Regions from separate parts of the Homo sapiens genome. Here region 2 is linked to region 1. Evidence: promoter capture Hi-C in 16 types of primary human blood cells and fetal thymus (Javierre and others, 2016). All regions are on one chromosome and are shown on one strand. The core of a region is centred on a gene start or on the middle of the fragment in contact, and the rest is flanking DNA. Distances in the headings are between cores, read along the strand shown. Region 1 holds the start of COPA (coat protein complex I subunit alpha). Region 2 holds the start of DUSP12 (dual specificity phosphatase 12).

Region 1 (7,869 bases), core at 1,315-3,814:
AAGTAGGAACACAAACTAGTCCCAGTTCACTAGTGTGAACTCTGGGGATTGCTCTGCCTTCTCCTTTCCAGTGGTCCTTTTTCAGGTTTTGAATAGTTTTCTCACATGCAGATCAGTACTCAAACAAAGACCTGAGAAGACATCCTGCAGATCTCTAGTGCTCTCTCTCTGCAGCCCCCTCTTCTCCGGTATTTTGCCCAACAAAATCTAGCCATCTTTGCTTCCCCACACTCTAAATTTATGTCTCCTCAGAAAGACCAAGGGATTCCCCTCTTCACTGAAGCCTAAAAACTCTCTAGGCAGTAATCTACGACAATCACAGGACTCACCTTGTTTATTTGCCTTCTCTGGAGAATTATTTTCCTGCACTGCCTGTTGCCCAACATCTGTGAGCAATGTATGAACCTTTGTTTCATACATTTTGTTCAGTTGTATAGTTAAGGTGGGAAGGTAAATCTGGCTCTTGTTATTCTATCATGACTGGAAATGGAAGTCCCCAGAGGTAACAACTACTAACAGTTTGAAGTGTATCCTTTCAGATTTTTAATGCAGTTACACATAGACATAGGCTTTAGTATTTTATGAAAGTGGGGATCACGTTATGATGTTGTTCTGCAAACTTCTTCCTCACTTAACTATATAATATGGATCTCATGGAAGTACATATAAACATAACCTCATTCTTTTTAACTACAAGGGACAAATGTACTACACTTATATTATTCTAACAGGCATTTTGTCCGCCAATTTTTGGCTATCAGAAGAGCCTACTGAAGATACTTCTACACATAATCTAGCCTATTTGCATTATTACTGCCCTAGGCTAAAGACCTGTGAGATTGCTCAGGAATAGAATATGTGCACTTAACATTTTAGTACATATAGTTTAAATGTAAAAACACTGTATCAATATACAGTCTCATGAAGTTTATGGAGGTGCCCATTTTGCACACAGGCTGCTATCAGCTATTTGTTGTTTTGTTTTATAAATCTAAGACCCTCCCCCCAAAAAAGTAACTTAACTTTTTTTTTCTTGCATTTCTTTCATTACTAGTGAGGTGGAACTATTTTAATTATTTATTGAACATTTACAATTTTTCTTCTAAATTGTCTATTTTTCCATTAGGTTCTTTTTTTTAATTATGATATATAAGTACACTCAACAATGGATGTTTGCCCTCAAATATTATGACATCTTTGTTTTTCCTTCTGTACTGCCCAGCAAGAAATTAGGAGCAGAAAAGAAAACTGAAAGATTATGAAGACCCATTTCACATTTCACCTATACAGGTCTCAGAAATTCTTAATGGTACCCATCTTTCAAGGTCAAGTTTCCCAAGAGACTTAGAAACTGCTCAGAATATATTCACACATTGATAACAACCTCCAGTTTTTGAGCTACTGAGTCTACACCAGGCGCTGTAATAAATACACTCCATATACTTTCTCATTTTAATACTCTCTATAAAAGACGATTTTACAGATGAGGAAATACAGACTTAGAGACATTAAGTAAGTCATCCAAGTCACAGCTTGTTAGTGGATGTCTCAGGATTCCAAGGCAAGCCCATCTGACTTCAAAGACCAAGTTCCTAACCACTTTGTTACGCTGCATCTCACTAAATATTCTAGATACTATTTTTTCCAGGTCTTCGGAGACCTTACTTCTCTGACTTTCACATTCTAACGTTCTGAGGCTAATACTGCGATCTCAGTATTTGCCCTCCACCCCCAACGACCCACACTCGAGCTCTAGAGCTGCCGTACTTAGCAAATAAAAATACGAGATTTCCAGATAAATTTGAACTTCTGGTAAGCAACGACAGACTAAAAAACTATTCATTGTTTACCTGAAATTCAAATTTAACTGGGTATCCTGCATTTTATCTGGCAACTCTATCAAGTTGAGACTTTATTGGGGTTATAAGCCTCAAGTACTATTTCCGGGTAGTAAATAAAGCCGAATGGAGGCACTGATGTTGAGATGCTGCAGCCAAGGCCTCCTTAAGTGAGGTTGCCACTACTCGTCTCCAAAAAGGCTACTGACTCGGGTGCGAGTAACAGAGATCGAGACTCAGTTCCCAGGGCCACTCCATATAACACAGTCATCAAAAAGCCAACAGATCACAGGGCCTTTGGAGCAGAACAACACAAATCGGGAGCACAGCCAAGAGAGAAAGGGGGAAGAAAGAATAGGGAGGGGGTCTAAGGAATCCCCTGCAGTGTGGGAGCCACTTTATAGGTAAATCGAAGCCCAAGGACACACCAAAGAAGAGGGGACTGGAGAACCGCTAGCCAGGCCCAACCTCTCTCCCACCCTCCGTCTTCCTCCGGGTCCGTCTGGTGGGCCCATTTCGACCAACACCTCTACCCATTTTCTCTTCCCCGGTGTCAGCGCCGCTCCTGACATCCAACCTCCATGTTCCCCCTTTTATTCTCCACTACCTTTGACCCGCGCGCTCTTGGTCTCGAATTTGGTTAACATCTCTCAGGTCTCCGACTCCGATGTCTTAATCCGAGCCCCGACACACCCTGCTGCCCTTCGGACGCCTCCACGTCAGCGACCCTCTCCCGCGGTTTCCGGAAGCGCCTGGAAACACGAACTTCCGGTCTCTTAGGCTCCGGGCCACAGAGACGGTGTCAGTGGTAGCCTAGAGAGGCCGCTAACAGACAGGAGCCGAACGGGGGCTTCCGCTCAGCAGAGAGGCAAGATGGCTACGGCAGGGGGTGGCTCTGGGGCTGACCCGGGAAGTCGGGGTCTCCTTCGCCTTCTGTCTTTCTGCGTCCTACTAGCAGGTGAGGCCTCCCCGCCCGTGAGCTCCGTTCTCTAAGGGGAACTCTCGGATCGGCCCCGCCGCGACCGCCACTGTCTCCCTTCTGGTTCCTGCTGCCCCTCTGTCCCCCCACCCTGTAAATCCTCTTTCTTTTTCGTTCCCACGACAGAAGTTCCCCCTTTGCCTGGACCTGAAGGTCCCTTCTCCCCCGCAGCACGTCGTGTCGCTTCACTCCCTTCTCTAGGCCTCTTCCTGGACTTCGAGCCTGACCCTCTCCCACTTTGTCCAGATGTCTCGTTTTTCCCACAACCCCAGCCACCCACCCCACAGTCGAAAGGAACAGGTGTGAAAGTTAGCTTTCTTCCTCGCGTTTAGACTTTTTGAGACGAAAGCAATCTTGTTCTGTGGGTGCTGTGCGGCGCTTAAAAGGTGGATTTCTTATTTCTTCCTCTGTTGATTACATCCTAAGTCTGTGTCCCCCTGCCTTGCCTCAGGTTTTTTTTTTTTTTTTTTTTTTAATCAGTAAAGCAAGAATAAGGTAGGATATGGGTACTCTTAACTGTGAAGACCCTGAAGTAACAATTCAAGGAACTTTTGGCATTTATAATGTACTTAAGTGTTTGCTGATACGCGTTCATTTACTGATACATGGCTTTTTAGTTGGTCAAGCCCTAAAATGCAAATGCCTGTATATAACTATGACTGTGCCTTCCCCCAATTCACATTGTTTTTAAGGATCCTCAAAGGAGAAACTACAGCTGCCCCACACTGTGGGCACACAAATGACCTGCTGATGTTAAATTAACTGACCCGTGTATGTCATAAGGTTTCTCTCAATTCTGTTCACACTCTTGGAAAAATGCCTCAGAAAGTTTTCTTAGCCCAGCACCTGTGTATTAACCAATTAGTAATATACATACAGGATATACAAGCAGAAGTGTGATCACCTGTGCAACCAGAATCTGGCAAATCTAAGGTCAAACACCTTTCCTTTGACCAAGTTTTCTCTCTTTTAGTGTCACTGTCAATGGCGCTACATGGACTTTGTAATAACCCTTTGAGGCACATAGCTGGGTGCCATGTAGAACATGTATCTGTTACGATAAGTGTGTGCCCAAGAAATCAGAAGAATGGACTTTAATCTCATTTTAGAAAGTATGATATTAAATGATTTACCCAAGCCATACTTCAGGTTAATGACACGATAGAAGCTAGTACCTGTGTCTCTCAAATTTTTCTAACACTTTTTATCTTCCGATCAGGTTTGTGCAGGGGAAACTCAGTGGAGAGGAAGATATATATCCCCTTAAATAAAACAGCTCCCTGTGTTCGCCTGCTCAACGCCACTCATCAGATTGGCTGCCAGTGTGAGTTGAGATGGATTCATGTTTGTGGACATTGATATTTGTCTGTGCCCTAGATACTAAGTAACATCCATGTCCTGCTTAGGAGATTTGACACTTATATTGGACTGTATGTAGGCAGTTACAGATAACCGTCTGTCAAGCTAGGCAAGATAATTAATAAGAACTAACATTTAGTAAATGCTGCATACCAAGCTTTTTACATGTGCATCTCATACAACCCCAACCACAACCCCACAAAATAGGTCTTACTGTTATTGTCACTTTATAAATGATGAAACTAAAACTTAAAGAAGTTGAGTAACTTTCCCAAGATCATACTGGTAATAAGTGATGATGCCAGGATCTGGTGGCCCGAGCACTAAGCTGAGAGACCTTTTTTTTTTGACACGGAGTTTCACTCTTGTCCCCCAGGCTGGAGTGCAATGGCACGATCTCGGCTCACGGTGACCTCTGCCTTCTAGGTTCAAGTGATTCTCCTGCCTCAGCCTCTTGAGTAGCTGGGATTACATGCACCTGCCACCATGCCCAGCTAATTTTTGTATTTTTAGTAGAGATGGTGTTTCACCATGTTGGCCAGGCTGGTCTCGAACTCTTGACCTCAAGTGATCCACCCACCTTGGCCTCCCAAAATGCTGGGATTACAGGCGTGAGCCACCGCACCCAGCCGAGCCAGCACTCTTAACCACCCTATTATACTGTTTTTTAAGGAGAAAAAAGTCTCATATTCTATGGTGTCCAGTTATCACTTGCACTCTGAACTTTTTGGAACCAAAATGGGCTAAAGGCAATGAACTATCTGAAGAGAAGGCACTGAAAATGCCAAATAGGCTGGGCGCAGTGGCACATGCCTGTAATCCCAGCACTTCAGGAGGTCAAGGCGGGTGGATCACTTGAGGTCAGGAGTTTGAGACCAATCTGCCAGCATGGTGAAACCCCCCCATCTCTACTAAAAATACAAAAATTAGCCGGCTGGCTGCTATGGCATGCCTGTAGTCCTAGCTTCTCGGGAGGCGGAAGCAGAAGAATCCCTTGAGCCCAGGAGGCGGAGGTTGCAGTGAGCTGAGATTGTGCCACCATACTCCAGTATAGGTGACAGAGTGAGACACTGTCTGAAAAAAAAAAAAAAAAAAAAAAAGAAAATGCTGAATAATTGCAAGAGGAATTAGTGAAGCATTCTATTTATCCTTTTTTAAAACTTTTTTTCCTTAAATTCAACTGACAGGCCGTTTATTTTCACACTTTGTGTGTTCCAAAAGAAGGTTCCATGACACTGTGGCTTTAAAAACTATCAAAATCATAGGGCAGGAAAAGTAGTAATCTAAAGGCTAACCTGCTGTCTTCAGATTTTGTTTCCCATGGACAATAGCTCTGTCAGAATGTAGTTTTGCAGATAAGCAGGAAACTTGGGGTCTGATACTGGCTTCTTCATCATCAAATTGATCACCTCTGAATTTCAGTTTACCCCTGGAATAATGGTTGGAGTACTTGCATAAAGCTGAAAGTCAAATACCTCTTAATAGTTGTTTATTGATGACGCTAGGTAAATAGGGTGGTCTCAAAAGTGCTGTATAATTTCCTGAAGCCTTCTTCCCATTTGATAAGAGAAAACTGGGACACTGAGAAGTGAAGGACTTGTTCGTGGAAGCAGTTACTACTTTTTTAGCCATCTTTCCCTGAGCTATAGTATCTGTTAATTGTCCCATGTCCCTGCTATACAAAGCACTGGGAGTAGGTTGACTGGTTCCAAACAGCCCCAAATAAAGTTTTTGTTGTACTTAGTTTCTTTTTTTTTTTTTTGAGATGCAGTCTCGCCCTCTCGCCCAGGCTGGAGTGCAATGGCACAATCTCAGCTCACTGCAACTTCCTCCTCCCAGGTTAAAGCAATTCTCCTGTCTCAGCTTCTTGAATAGCTGGGATTACAGGCGCGTGCCACCGTGCCCAGCTAATTTTTTGTATCTTTAGTAGAGGCGGGGCTTCACCATGTTGGCCAGGCTGGTCTCGAACCCCTGACCTCGTGATCTGCCCGCCTTGGCCTCCCAAAGTGCTGGGATTACAGGCATGAGCCACCATGCCCAGCCCTCTGGACTTAGTTTCTGAACTGGTTTGTAGGTAGAAGAGAGCTAGGTCCAGGGTGGGCTGAGATCAGACTGCTGGTCTTGCTGGAACCTCACTATAAAGTACAGAAGGCCAGGACCCCAACCTCTTGTAACTAGGCTCTAAGAAAACTCCTTTGGGAATAAGTCATTCTACTCTATGTTCTTAAAACAGCTCTGTAGGAAGCAAAGCCTCTAGAGGTAAAGCCACGTGCCAGTACAGAGAAACAAGAGGGGGTAAGCGGGACTGTGGCCACTTCCTCATTAAGATCTTGGTTCCTTTTCAACCTACTTATTTCCAAATCTTACTTCGTCATATCTGTCTTTTCTGAGCAGGCTCCGCCCTTTTTAATTAGTGTAGCTAACATGATAAAACTAAGGAGAAAAAAGTGATACCCAGATTTGATTTCTGATTATAATACTCTGCTTCTCTTAGACGCTTTAAAGTTCTCAAAGGGGGCTTTAAATAGGTTTCTTTTCCCTCCCTCCCTCCTTCTATCCTTTCTTCCTTCTTTCGTCTGTCCCCACAGTATGAGATGAATAGAGGTAGAAAACCTCATTGAAGGCGCAGAGAAAATAAGCAAGTTACTTAAGACTACACCATTACTAGTTGGAACCCAGATTAGAATCCAGGTTTTTTTCAGTCCAGTATCATAGTTTGTCTTCCTGTCCTCGCTGGAGTTGAAGTTTTGGGGTGTGTGTGTGTGTGTGTCAGAGTCTCACTATGTCACCCAGGCTGGAGTGCTGTGGCACAATCTCAGCTCACTGCAGCCTCCGCCTCCCAGGTTCAAGCAATTCTCCTGCCTCAGCCTTCTGAGTAGCTAGCATTACAGGTGTGCACCATCACACTTGGCTAATTTTTGTATTTTTAGTAGAGATGGGGTTTCGCCATGTTGGCCAGGCTGGTCTCAAACTCCTGACCTCAAGTGATCCACCCACCCACTTCGGCCTCCCAAAGTACTGGGATTACAGGCATGAGCCACTGTGCCCGGCCGAAGTTATATATGTTTTAGTTGCCACACTATCTGTTCCTTTTCCCATGTTTTAAATGCTGTGGCAAGGGCCGGGCATGGTGGCTCACTCCTGTAACCCTAGCACTTTGGGAGGCTGAGTGGGCATTTAAAGTGATGCTGATATACAGCCAGGGCTGAGAACTACTGGTCTAAAATAATTGATGAATAACATATCCAATTTTCTGTAGGGAGAAGACTCACAGGGAGACCCTAGGATATCTCCACACAGATCACTGGGGACTTAAGGAGTATTACCTAATGCCTTGAATTATGTAGAATTCAAAGTATTCTGGACTCTGGGTCATCCATCCTCTAATACAGTGCTTCCCAATCTTTATCATGTCATGAGACACATAGAAAATGTTATTTGTATAGCATCCTGGCACATAGAGAAATGGGTGATATTTTCAGGGCATCCTGGGGTAAATGATAAGTAGGCTCCTGGCTGGAGGTGACTTTGGAAACCCTAGGTTTCCTGGAATGAGGAGAACCAATGAGAGCACATCTCTGATCCATTCGAGGCTTATCAATTGGGAAGCTCTGTTTTAGAAACCTCAGAGTTCTTGACTAACCTCATCTAAAACCGGCCAGAAGCAAGTAAAGTCATTCCCAAAAAGGGCAA
Region 2 (6,895 bases), core at 379-2,878, 1.4 Mb after region 1:
GATTAGCAATTTGAGCATCTTTTCCTATGCTTTTTGGCCTCTTGTATATCTTCTTTGGAGGAATGTCTATTCAGGTCGTTTGCCCAGTTTTTTGAAAATTGGGTTACTTGTTTTTCTGTTGTCGAGTTGTAGGAGTTTTTTATATGTTCTGCATATTAACGTATCAGATATATGCTTTGCAATTATTTTTTCCCATTCCATACAAATTCCTTTTCTCTCTATTGACTGTTTTGCTTGATATGCAGACACTTTAAAATTTGATATAGTCCCATTTGTCTATTTTCGCTTTTGTTGCCTGTGCTTTTGGTATTTTATCCAAAAAATTGAGGGAGAAGAAAAGGAAAAATCAGTTAGGTAGACAGCTAAGGCTAGCCCTTGGAGAAGCAGTCTGCCTGAAAAATCACAGCTACAAACAAAATAGAGCAGCTTAGGCAAAACTCAGGCTGCACCTGCACAGATAAGCAGGTAGGGTCCAGCACAGACGCTTTTCATTCTTCGTGTAATTGGCGAGCTCCCAGGAAAAACTTTCCTCCCCTTTTCAGGTATATACACAGTGGACTCCGTGGGAACTTGCACAGGAAGGAGGGGGGCTTACCTAAAACAAACCTACAGTGATACAAACAAGAGAACCCACGCTTTGTGCTTGCCTAGAGACATACCCACATCGGCAGAAGATAAGGGAAGTTGCACAGACAGATTTATTCATAAGAGAAGTTACTCAAACAACTATAGAGATGAGAGGAGTTTCTTATAATAGGTTTTGAATTCAGCTGTAAAAATGGCACCCCACTTGGGCTCCCCTCTCTGCTGTGGAGAGCTTTCTTCTTTTGCTTATTAAACTTTTGCTTCAACCTCACTCTTTGTGCCCATGCTCCTTAGTTTTCTCGGTCGTTAGACAAGTTCGGATAACACCTTAGACAATGAGACCATTAACCCTTACCTGTTTCAACATTTTTATCAAATCCAAGGCCATGAAGCTTTCCCCCTATGTTTTCTACTAAGAATGTTATATTTTTAGGTCTTTAATCTATTTGGAGTTATTTTTTGTGTATGGTCCAAGGTAAAGGTCCATCTTCATTCTTTTGCATGTGGATATCTAGTTTTTCCCAACACTGTTGAGGAGATTGTCCTTTTTCCATTGTGTGGTCTTGGCACTCTTTTTGAAGATTATTCTAACATATATGCAGTGTTGCAGGTGATTAGCAGCTTTCTGGGCTGGTGACATGGGTGGTAGGAAGAATTTACCAACACAGTTGTAGGTAAAGAAAGGCAGGTTTATTAGATAAAGTATGAAAATACATTGCAAGGGTGCAACAGGCAGGTCAGCAAGAGAGAAGCTGACTGCTAGGAAACAAAGGCTTGCTGGGGATTTTGTAGAATGGTGCTTATGTTGTGGGTGGAAGAGGGCTTTGTGCAGTACTAATAATGCCAGGGTTGCAGTGAACTAACTTCCATTTTTCTATCAGCTGAGGGTCTGGTGATGGCTGGGCACAGGCAGATTGTGAGTTATTTGCACAGCAGGGCTATGTGTCCTGGACCACGAAGAAAGGCAGACTTATGGCTTGTCTGCTTTCTCCTTTTGCTTCCCTTCGTCCAGCCAGCCTGACTCCTTTTCCCTAATTAGGACTCCACACGCAAGGGTTTGTTCTGTTCCAGAATAGAGACACGTCGATGTATCTATCTTTATACCAGTACTATAGCTGCTACTTCTTGACCAATTACAGCTTTAGTATCTCTCTCACCTGTCCTCCCTATACAAAAGATATATAAAATATACTCACTGTACTGAGTATCTTCCTGCAGCATTCAGTCTGGAGCAAAGCCTGCTTCCTTCAACCCTTTCCAAAATCCCCAAATAAAAGCCCAAAATCTGTAGAGGATCTTCCTAACATCCTCGTGCTGAGATGCCCTGAAATTCTCCATAACTCATGACTGAGTAATAAAACCAACTTGCTTAATTAAAGTTGGTTTCTTGTAGTCCTGGCCGGAGGACATTGACTTACAAAAATATAGGATTAGTATCTTCAAAATAAATAGACAGTAAACATCAACAAGGATTCACACCCCAATAATGAAATTGGGCAGAAAAAGGAAAAATAATCATGAAATGCACAGTAAAGATGGCTCCATAATATTGAAAAAAATTTTACTTCAAATGCATAAAATGATGCTTCTGATTCAGCTGGTGCGACATTTATTTCACATTTGAGTTCAGCTGCTCCTGATGTCTCTTTCCTGAAAATTTCAATACTAAGAGCTCGAGAAACCCTGTATTTGGGGAAGCTTATCCTTCACCATCAACTTTGGGGGTAGGGGTCAGAGGGAACAAGGGTGGAAAGGCCGCGCTGAATGGGGCCGAAGCTCCGCCCCTCAGCGATAAGTCCAGATTCCTGCGGCCGACGTGGTCCTCCGAGGGAGCAGCAGAGCCGCCGAGGCTGGCGAGTCCCAGGGGAAGGATGTTCTAGCCGGAGTCTACTCGATGGTAGGGCAGGAAGCCGCCTTGTCTCTGGGCGCGGCCATGTTGGAGGCTCCGGGCCCGAGTGATGGCTGCGAGCTCAGCAACCCCAGCGCCAGCAGAGTCAGCTGTGCCGGGCAGATGCTGGAAGTGCAGCCAGGATTGTATTTCGGTGGGGCCGCGGCCGTCGCGGAGCCAGATCACCTGAGGGAAGCGGGCATCACGGCCGTGCTAACAGTGGACTCGGAGGAGCCCAGCTTCAAGGCGGGGCCTGGGGTCGAGGATCTATGGCGCCTCTTCGTGCCAGCGCTGGACAAACCCGAGACGGACCTACTCAGCCATCTGGACCGGTGCGTGGCCTTCATCGGTCAGGCCCGCGCTGAGGGCCGTGCGGTGTTGGTGCACTGGTGAGTGGCCGGGTCAGTGGGTGACGTGCCCCGCCAAGCTTCCAGCCGGCCCCCGTCGCCCCTTACCTTCCGAGGCCGTCGGGAGGACAAGAGCGCGGTCATGCCGCGTGAACCTCCTCCCGCTGCCTCCCGCAGGAGGCGTGTTTCCAAGAGAGGAGGAGGGTTGAGGCGGGCCCCTGGTGTGTGCAGGCTTTCATTCATTCATGCTTTAGTTGGTTCTTCCTGCAGCAGCAGAGGGCGGGGGAGGTGTCATCTGATAAATGACAAATTACCTACACCCTAAGGAGTTTACAGCTCTGTTGGAGAAGCTAGACACCCACCCCGATTATTGTAATGCAGATTAGGTTGCTTGGTGTCTTGTAAACGGGATTTACAAAGATTTAGGGTTAAATGTTTTTGTTTGGGATGGGTGGCGGGTGGTTGATGAAGAGATGAATTGGTTTGGATCTAAAGGATCCCTGGGCTTTGCCTAGGGAGGAGATGGTTGCAGCAAAGACAAAAAGAAAATGGGAATCCCGCAGGGCGCGGTGGCTCACGCCTGTAATCCCAGCACTTTGGGAGGCAGGAGGATCACAAGGTGAGGAGTTCGAGATCAGGCTGGCTAATATGGTGAAACCAAAAATACAAAAATTAGCCGGGCGTGGTGGCTCTCGCCTGTAGTCCCAGCTACTCGGGAGGCTGAGGCAGGAGAATCACTTGAACCTGGGAGGCGGAGGTTGCAGTGAGCCGAGGTCATGCCACAGCACTCCAGCCTGGGCAACAGAGCGAGACTCCATCCCTCCCCCCAAAAAAAGAAAATGGGAATCCCTAAGCAGTTCTTGGTTGGATTGGAGTATAATAATCGTTTAAATTTATTGAGCACATAAAAGAAGATAGTGATGAAATCAAAAGAAGTCTGGGACCAGATTTTGAGGTCCCTGAATGCTAAGATGAAAGGAGATTGGATTTGTTTTTGTTTTGTTTTATTTATTTTTATTTTGATATAGGGTCTTGCTCTGTCACCCAGGCTACAGTGTAGTAGCGTAATTACGGCTCACTGCAGTCTCAACCTCCCAGGCTCAAGTGAACCTCCTGCCTCGGCCTCCAGAGTAGCTGGGACTACAGACCCCACCACATCCGGCTAATTTTTTGTAGAGGTGGGGTCTCACTTTGTTGCCCAGGCTGGTCTCCAACTCTTGGACTCAACCAATCCTCTCACCTCGCCTCCCAAAGTGCTGGGATTTCAGGCGTAGGTAAGCCACTGTGTCTAGCCAGGAGTTTGGATTTGTTCTGAGCCATTATAAAAATTTTAAAAATTACTGTTATTATTTTTGAATAGGTAATAGATTCACGTGGTTCAGAATTCAAAAGGAAAAAGGAATAATTATTTTGTACCTTGATAATATTTCAGAGGCAATGGGCTTATTTGAGAAGCAAAAATGAAGTGGGCCTAAACTTTACTATTAATAGGGGGCTGGGCTTTGTGTGTTTTTTTTTTTAATTGTTGCTATTTGCTGTTTTATTTTAAAGGTCTCTTTTTCAGTCATGCAGGAGTCAGTCGAAGTGTGGCCATAATAACTGCTTTTCTCATGAAGACTGACCAACTTCCCTTTGAAAAAGCCTATGAAAAGCTCCAGATTCTCAAACCAGAGGCTAAGTGGGTTCTTTTTTTATAGTAATAATTATGCTTTTGTGATATAATTTTAAGAAAATGAAACTTTATATTTCTTTATCATTACAGGATGAATGAGGGGTTTGAGTGGCAACTGAAATTATACCAGGCAATGGGATACGAAGTGGATACCTCTAGTGCAATTTATAAGCAATATCGTTTACAAAAGGTTACAGAGAAGTATCCAGGTAAGTAATAATTGCTAGTGTGTAATGGGCTTTCTAGATGACATTTACTTTAGCATTGTATGCTTTACCTTACTTCCAGCAATCCCTGAGAAACTATTGTTTCTTTTTGAAACTGATTTAGCCAGAAATAACCTATTCAAAATCACATGGTTTATAAATGGCAGGGTCAGGATTTGAATTCAGGCAGCCCGTGCCCAGAACCTAAGCACTTAAATCACTGTCCTCTCCTACCTTAGCCTGATTTCTCAACACTGGAATTTGATTTTTTTTTTTTTTTAATTTTTGAGGTTAGCACTTGTTGCCTCAATTTGACATTAACTGAATTTATCTGAAAATGCAGAGTTGATTTTGACAAATAAATACATTTTAATTATGTCATATAGAATTGCAGAATTTACCTCAAGAACTCTTTGCTGTTGACCCAACTACCGTTTCACAAGGATTGAAAGATGAGGTTCTCTACAAGTGTAGAAAGTGCAGGTAAACTATTTTATATCCTTTGGATATTTTATCTTGTCTCAGTAGCTGAAAAGTACTTAATGTTTTATTTTCTTAAATTTCTGTAGGAAGATTTTGTTTAATTGAAATTTTTAGTTCAGATCTGTTTTCAGAAAGAATATAAATTCTTAAAAAGAGAAATAATCAGATTGTAAGGGTTATTGAAAATTTAAGTAGTGTAATCAATGTTACATTATTTTGTTCTCTAAGCAATATTGCACATTTTGCTGGGCGCAGTGGCTCACGCCTGTAACCCCAGCACTTTGGGAGGCCGAGGCAGGCAGATCACCTGAGATTGGGAATTTGAGACCAGCCTGGCCAACATGGTGAAACCCCGTCTCTATTAAAAATACAAAAATTAGTTGGGCATGGTGGCTGGTGCCTGTAATCCCAGCTACTCAGGAGGCTGAGGCAGGAGAATTGGTTGAACCCAGGAGGCGGAGGTTGCAGTGAGCCATGATCACGCCACTGCACTCTAGCATGGGCGACAGAGTGAGACTCTGTCTCAAAAAAAAAAGAAATACCGCACATTTCATCCATGTTTTCATCCTTTTGGAAGTCATTAATGCTTTTGTTTGTTTGGGGGTTGCAGGCGATCATTATTTCGAAGTTCTAGTATTCTGGATCACCGTGAAGGAAGTGGACCTATAGCCTTTGCCCACAAGAGAATGACACCATCTTCCATGCTTACCACAGGGAGGCAAGCTCAATGTACATCTTATTTCATTGAACCTGTACAGTGGATGGAATCTGCTTTGTTGGGAGTGATGGATGGACAGGTGAGAACACATTTTATTTTCTACAATTTTATTTTATGATCTATATTTTATTCCTTCTTGCATTTTAAGCTCTATTTTAACTAGTGTTTTGCTCCATTTCTTAATTTCTTTATTTCTGAAGATTATATCTTTCTAGTGTAGATAAGACTATCAAAAATAAAATATTTTTCAAAAACCAGCTGATCCAACATAGTGAACTACTTCTGGTTGAGAGCCCTGGTCTAAGTTAATAAATTTCCTTTAAGGCTATTTATATTTTTTTCAAATATAAGACTAACATTTATTTTTAAACTAATTAGAATATATTGGCTGGGCACTCTTGCCTCATTAGCTCATGCCTGTAATCTGAGCACTTTGGGAGGCTGAGGCGGGAGGATCACTTGAGCCCAGGGTTTCGAGACCAGCTTGGGCAATATAGTGAGACCTCATCTCTATAAAAGAAAGTAAAAAATTTTTAATAAGAAAAAAAGAAAAGAAAAAATGTATTAAACAAAATTTGAACTTTGTAACAAGATAGGGTAAATCAGGGATTTTAAAATTAGGTTAAAAATTCTGTCTTTCTTTTTCTCTGTTGGCTTCCTGTATGTGTCTTTCTCTTTTTTCTTATCTTTTAGGAGAGTGAAATTTAGTTTGTTTTGCTATGAGATTCTTTTTCATTTCCAGTTAAATAATGCAGCTCATCCTATTGCTCCTGTAACCAGTGGGTAGGGAAATAAAAAAAGAATGCAGTTCATGTGACATTTTACATAAAAAAGTGTTTAACTTGGTTGGAGTGTGCCATGACAGCCACATTTCTCCTTTAGGTTTACTTGATATTAATGTGAAGGTATTCTATAATAATCATCTTAATAATGATTTTGAAAGTTTGTATGGTTTGTATAAAAGTTTGTATAGTGGCTAGTTTATGAAACCCTTTC

Evidence for each region. The method cuts DNA at HindIII sites, captures the fragments that hold promoters and counts their contacts. A CHiCAGO score of 5 or more calls a contact.
Region 2: a fragment that was not itself captured here is called in contact with the fragment with the promoter of COPA in region 1 in 3 of 17 cell types (naive B cells, non-activated CD4 T cells and total CD4 T cells); the score reaches 5.5 in naive B cells.

The regions. Positions count from the first base shown.
Region 1 is chr1:160,340,686-160,348,554 of GRCh38, forward strand. COPA (coat protein complex I subunit alpha) reads right to left here and starts at 2,565. Exons shown (of 33, transcript NM_004371.4): 1 at 2,446-2,565. The coding sequence starts at 2,485. It overlaps NCSTN (nicastrin), which reads left to right and starts at 2,698. Exons shown (of 17, transcript NM_015331.3): 1 at 2,698-2,796; 2 at 4,037-4,141. The coding sequence starts at 2,712. RefSeq lists enhancers at 2,498-3,445, 2,718-2,767, 6,133-6,182. The HindIII fragment of the contact is 9,711 bases long and covers 1-4,331 here.
Region 2 is chr1:161,747,284-161,754,178 of GRCh38, forward strand. DUSP12 (dual specificity phosphatase 12) reads left to right here and starts at 2,503. Exons shown (of 6, transcript NM_007240.3): 1 at 2,503-2,862; 2 at 4,385-4,498; 3 at 4,583-4,701; 4 at 5,085-5,181; 5 at 5,792-5,978. The coding sequence starts at 2,519. RefSeq lists enhancers at 501-580, 681-730, 2,302-2,811, 2,873-3,519. The HindIII fragment of the contact is 1,306 bases long and covers 976-2,281 here.